Regions from separate parts of the Homo sapiens genome. Here region 1 is linked to region 2. The links are contacts of gene promoters, found by promoter capture Hi-C in blood cells and fetal thymus (Javierre and others, 2016). All regions are on one chromosome and are shown on one strand. Each heading gives the region's core, a stretch centred on a gene start or on the middle of the fragment in contact. The rest is flanking DNA. Distances are from core to core; before and after follow the strand shown. Region 1 has its middle 370 kb from the start of LMCD1-AS1. Region 2 holds the start of GRM7-AS2 (GRM7 antisense RNA 2).

Evidence for each region. The method cuts DNA at HindIII sites, captures the fragments that hold promoters and counts their contacts. A CHiCAGO score of 5 or more calls a contact.
Region 1: a fragment that was not itself captured here is called in contact with the fragment with the promoter of GRM7-AS2 in region 2 in 4 of 17 cell types (M0 macrophages, endothelial precursors, M2 macrophages and 1 more); the score reaches 8.1 in M0 macrophages.

The regions. Positions count from the first base shown.
Region 1 is chr3:8,133,909-8,137,399 of GRCh38, forward strand. No RefSeq gene overlaps it. Among named protein-coding and RNA genes, the nearest start is that of LMCD1-AS1, 370 kb to the right of the region's middle. The HindIII fragment of the contact is 1,482 bases long and covers 665-2,146 here.
Region 2 is chr3:6,892,600-6,895,657 of GRCh38, forward strand. It overlaps GRM7-AS2 (GRM7 antisense RNA 2), which reads right to left and starts at 1,418. Exons shown (of 2, transcript NR_131906.1): 1 at 1,321-1,418; 2 at 38-449. The region is part of intron 1 of GRM7 (glutamate metabotropic receptor 7); the gene reads left to right. The HindIII fragment of the contact is 4,859 bases long and covers 1-3,058 here.

The DNA of each region.
Region 1 (3,491 bases), core at 156-2,655, 1.2 Mb after region 2:
CAAGAATGTGGTGGCAGCATCTTTATCAGGAGTATCTGGGTCTGTGGGCCTAGATCCCCATCTAGGGGACCTCAAACTCTACTCAGCAAACAACAGTTCTGGGGAGAAACATTGTGTCCCAGGGAGGAACGGAAAAGGGAATTCGCTCATTCCTTCTGTCATTTATTCATTCAGCAAATATTATTAAATGCTGATTCTGTGCCACGCACTGCATCAGGCACTTGAATATAACAATGGATAAGAAGAGAGGTGAAGTTCCCCACTCTAACAAGTCTACATTCTAACACAAGAAACAGGTAGAAATGGAGACAGGCAGATTTTTTTAGAAGAATGATTTCAAACACAGTTGACCCTTAAACAAAATGGGTTTGAACTGCACAAGTCCACTTATAAGCAGATTTTCTTTCACCTCTGCCACCCAAGAGACAGACACCCAAGACCAACACCTGCTCTTCCTCCTCTTCCTCAGCCTTCCCAATGTAAAGACGATGAGGTTAAAGGCTTTTATGATGATCCACACCCACTTAAGGAATAGTAAATATATTTTCTCTTCCTGATGATTTTCTTAATAACATTTTCTCTTCTTCAGATTACTTAATATAAAAATACAGTATATAATACATATACAAAATGTGTGTTAATCAACTATTTATGTTATTAGTAAAGCTTCCAGTCAATAGTAGGCTATTAGTAGTCAAGTTTAGAGAATCAAAAGTCACTCAGATTTTGTATTGTTCGAGAGGTCAGTACCCCTAATCCCCACATTGTTCCAGGGTCAACTGTGGTGGTAAGAATTATAAAGAGAAAAAACAGCTAATAGCATAGATTAACATTAATATCTCTGGGTACCATGTTATACGGTGGGTCAGCAAGGTTTCATTGAACTGAAAGATAACTTAAGAGGAAGAGCCTGTGGGACATGAGGTGAGGGATATGCATTCCAGGCCAAAAGGAGCAGGGAGTTCAAAGGCCCTGAGATGGGGCAGGTTTGGCAGATTTGAGAAACAAAAGAAGGTCATTTTGGTTGAAGCACAGTGAACAAGAGAGAAGCAGAAAGATATATGATTATGTGGGTGCTTGTCATTTTATGGTAAGTGGGATAGGAAGCCTTTAAAGGGTTTGGAGTAGGAGAGTAACAGGACCCTAAACAACCAGGAGGCTGCAAGGAATTGAGATCTGCAGCCAGGGCTCCAGGCTTATGCCCCATGTGGAACACTAGCTGGAGAGGGTAAGGTCAGGGCCATGCAGCCAGACAAGGGGGTGAGAGGGGGCTGGGTGCCTACGCAAGAGTAACATGGGGGTCCAGAGGCAGGCCTTGGAATCTGCCACCTAATGCCCAGCCATAATGTTCATTCAACATTTTTATTGACACCTACTCAGTACCTGGGTAAGGGATTCAGTGCACTTAGAGAGCTGGGTTTTTGATGGGAGAGAGAAATTAAACAGCTCAATTAGATAATTCTTCCTTCTAATAAGTGCTCCTGAAATAGAGGGCTGGGACTGAGCTTGCTTAGATCGGAGATGGTCTCGTGGAAGAGGTGACTCCTGGGGGTGAGAAGGAACCAGTTCCTAGAGGTGAGGATGAGGGCACTGGAGGAAACAGCACGGACAAAGGCCCAGAAGCTGAAAAACTCTGCCATATTGGAGGAAGAGGAAAGCAGCTCTGCACCTGGCACTTAGAGGGATACTAGAGGAAGCTAAGAGGATCCTAGGGACAGCTCATGTTGCTAGGGTCAGAGGTTGAAATTTATCTAAAAGCATAAGGGTTTTCCTACAACGAAATGCACAATTCACTGTTTTAATTTTTTAAAGGTTATGATAATTAAATGTTAACTCAGTACTTGCTCTTGAATGAACACTATGTCTGTGTTGTCACTATACACTGAGTAGCCCTTATCTGAAATACGTGGGACCAGAAGCGTTTTGGGTTTCAGATTTTTTCAGAGCTTGAAATATTTGCATTGTACTTAGAGTTAAGCATCCCTAATCTGGTATTCTAAAACCGTTTGATCATGACTTTTGAGTGATATGTCACTGCTCAAAAAGTTTCCAATTTTGGAGCATTTCAGATTTTATATTTTCAGATTAAGGATGCTCAACCTGTGCTATGTGTCAGTATCTGCTGTAAGCACTTCGCTTACATTAAAGCTTTTACTCTTCAAAACCACAATTTGAGTTAGGCACTCTTTTCCTTATTTTGCAAATGAGAAAATTGAGGAACACAGATTCAGCACCCAAGATCACACAGCTCATGAATGGCATAGCTGGAATCTGAACCCAGGCATTTTGACTCCAGAATCCCCTCTCTGACACAGCATGCTAGGCTGATGCTCTTTGATGTTCAAAGAGCACCCAAGGGCAGGACATCACAGGGAGACATAAAGACCAAGAAAGTGAGTGGAGTCAGCATTTGGGGTTCACCCTGAACTCAAGAACAAGCAAAGTTATTCTTCACTTTTTTTCTGTCCTATGTATTTATTCAAGAAGTATTTATTGAGCATTCGTTAAGTACCAGACTCCAGGTCAGATGTTAAAGATCCCTGAAGAGGTAAAACAGACAGATACAGATTCTTCCTCCTGGACTTTCTGTCTGTTGGAGGGCACAGAAATAAGAGAAAATTAAAAGACTAAAAAGTGTCATAGGGGAGAGGTAGGCCCTGCTTCAAGATTATATGACAGACAAAGCAGCTTTGGAAAAGTAAAACTTAGGAAAGGGCTGTTAGGCTTGGGAAGCCTTCTGTTTAGGAGGAACTTCAGGCCCTGGATTGCCGAGTGGTGCTGAGAGGGAGAAAAGTGGGTCAGGGTGATGGTAGGGGTGAGAACACGCCAGGCTCACTGAGTTAACTCTGGCCTCTAGGTTTACAGGTGAGAAGTCAATTATGACTAATCACCCTGCTTGATTTTTCAGGCCAGCTCAATCCAGCGGACAGGAAGGGCAGATTCAGCCCAAATGCTTGGACTAGTAATAATTTGGCATGTGGCTGGAGTGTCCTGCACACCCTAACTCTGATTCTTCCCCTGGGATGGATTAGGAATCCCCATGAGAGAAGAAGGGATGCTGCCCCAGACCTGTCCTCATACCACCCTCCAGCTATACCCACCAGTCCCTGCCCCACCAAATGGTGGCATTTAACAGTGGGACCAGAAACATTAAGACAAAGTATGAACGTTAAGGAAGCAGGGTAGTTGGTGAAAAAAGCAAACAGAGCTCTGGAATCTGACCAAACTAGAGCCTGGCTTAATGTGGGTTCTCCCAGACGCAGACCTCAAAGCCAGTATTCCAATGCAAGTAATGTGTTTTGAATGCAATTGCTGGAAATACAGGTAAGGGAGCAGGAACGGAGAAAGGGACAGCTGTTAGTAAAAGGTGTGTTTTTCAAATCAGTTACCCTTGAAGGGAACTTAATTCTGTGAGATTAATCCTGCTGGAAAACCCCGTGTGCGACATGCACTTCAGGGTTATCTCATTTGATGAGTGAACAAGATGAAAG
Region 2 (3,058 bases), core at 168-2,667:
AGTGAGGAAAAAGAAGGAAGAATTGGAGCCAATTCTGCTTGTTTTAGAATTGTATTTGTAGCTGCCCGTTTTACATATCACATGCTAAACTTCACCTCTCTTTACCCAATTACAGACACCTGAGGGGTAAACTCTGTGTTGGCAACCCAACAGCCCTCTGTGCTGGGCCACAGGCATCCCAGGATGTGAAAGACTTCCCTCAATGTCTTTGTTACTTGAGGCTACATCATTCCTCTCTTTGGAGATCAGCTTCTGTTGTGTGGGACAAAACGATGCGAAACCCGAACTCAAATAGAAAGATACAAAAATTAGCTACAGGTGTGCATGGCCCAGGGATGAAGTTGAGATTTCATGTAATGTGTCCTCTTTCTGTCATGACCTTGATGATGATGATAATGATGATGATGATGATGATGACGATAGCATCAGTAACATTTATTGATTTTTTCCTAGATGAAGGGCATATCATCTTAATAACCATTTTTTAATCTCCACTATGACCTAATGAAGTAAGCATTATATTATTTCAATATCCTCGAGGGTCAAAAAAATTAAGGAAGTTATTCTAGCTCACAACTGGGTGGTAGAACAACAATGACTGGACACTGGATCTGCCTGAATTATATTGTGTGAGCAGAGCCACTTACCTATTTCTGGCATATTGTAACTCAGAAGCTCTGGGGTTATTGTAGAGCAGCTGAGTGTGGTTGAACTAAGATGTCTTAATAGATAATATTAATATAAAGTAAATTACTTTAAAGTATCTTGGCATATATTGCGTTACTCTCATATCTGTCATTGGTTCTATTGGTAACTGTTGAGAAACTCATAACGTGAATCCTAATTCGGCCTCTAACTCATCGTTTATTTGACCTAATTGAGGCAATTATCTTTGTGTTGTTTTCTTTCCTACAGACATAAACTGAGCATCCAAAACATGCCCACCATCTTGTAAGTATATGCCATTAGTTTTATAGGTGCTCAATAAGATGGAGAAAGAGAAAAAGACACAAAAATACACCTCTCAGCATTTGAAATACAGTCATCAATTTTTGTGCCTTTTATATTGTCAGTTCCTTTTAACATTTACTAACACCCACACAATTTATATTTTTAATAAAGCAATTTCCTTACCAAACATTTTACATTTGGTTATTAGTTATATTCTGGTATTCTAACAATAACACTAATAATTATAAGCTGTTGAAAAATTCATCAGACCCTACATTTTTATCCCCACATCCTGAAAATAAAGTGGGAAATAAGGTAAAGAGTAGAAAATCTGCCTATGTTTTTCTTCGGATGACATGAGATGCTCACCTAATATCACTCCTTTAGCATTTTCTATTAAATTGTTCATTCTTTCCTGGGGGCATATGAACAGCTTCCATTACGGTAAATGTCAGTCTTGAGTGCAAACCTAGAAGAGGGCAAATGGAAAACTTTTAGACAATAAGTCAACTTTTCTTCAAAAGTTCAACCACTATACATTCCATGGTGAAAATATTTCTATGTACAGATGAAACCTCTTAGGTTTGGGGAAATTTCAATAGCAGATAGTGATCCTGAGTACACCTAGTTCATTTCTCTCTGCTTTTCCCCCTTGTTACATTGAGATTAAAATCTGTAGCAGAATTACATATTAAGCAGTCTAGGAAATTGATATGACATTTGGTCTGAATCTCCAAAGTAAATTTTAGATGAAGATGCTATGAAATTCACATAAGAAAAAATCATCAGAAATATTTTTATATTATCAAATGTACTGCAATAATGAAAGCAAATCCCACTTCTAGCTAATGAAACATGATTCTTTAGGTGATATTATATTGTGGCAGAAAAGGGATTTATGTCATCTATTGTTTCTATCCTAAAAATGCTAGAATGGGAGCAAATAAGCCAAATTAATTGTAATATATACATTGTAATTGTAATATATACATACATCTCTATAGGTGTATATATATACATATGTGTGTATATATGTATATACAAATATATACACATATATATTGCATACACACATGTGCACACATATAAGTAAAATTTCAACTTGCATCCTCAGAGCAGGTTTTGTGGGGAAGATAGGATGTAAACTGGGTAGGCTTCCAGCAGCTTTACTCGATTCTGACTTTAGGATAAAATCAAGCATTTCAACTGGTCAGTCAGTCTGACCTTGATGGAAAAGCATTCATCTGGATGGAACACTATAATTAAACATGCAGTTGTAGAGATGCCCTGGCTGTATTATTCCAGTGCCTGGAAGGTATTGAAACATCTATTTTCTCTAGGAGATGGAAAGGTATCTCAAGTGAAGTCTAAGTGTAATAAACAGAGGCCAGTGCTCTTTGTTGGGACATTGCTTTGATCCTATAACAAGTAACAATTTCATAATCTGTTTAAGATTGTCTTTATCCAAGAGGGTTCTTAGCAATAGGAGTAGAAAAGAAAAGCCGCTCTTTCTGGGTTCTTGCTCTTTGTCTATGAACCAGAGAAGGTGCCAATAGATGAACCAGGTCACAGCTATCCACAGCAGGAGACAGGACGATTATTAACACTCAATCTACTGGAAAGTAAATGGAAGTCTAAAGAAAGACTCCAAAGATTTCTATACCTTATATACTTGATACACCAAAAGTGTCGCCTCAGTGGATCCCTTCCCCCAAAATGCCAATATGTTTTTGCCAGTGTGTGACAGAATCTGAGGGGTGAAATTAAGGAAAAGAATGGAAAGCTGCCTTAAGATTCTAGCTCTTTGAACAGGGAACAAACAATACGTTTTCAATAATCTTAGCAACCACACTTGTAATAATGACCATCAGAATAACTGCTGTTTTCTGCCATATGGTAAGAACACTACCAAACTTATTTTTTTCTTCAACTTTACAACTCAAATTCTCTTATTATTTTCATTTTACAAATTAGGAAAGTGAAGCTCAGAGATACTGTCATTTGGCCAAGATCACACAGCTAGTAAGAGATAAGTCTGAACCCTTTTTGTTGGATACCAAAGACCACAATTTTAGTCCTTCAGAATCTATCTCAGAGCATTTGAGTA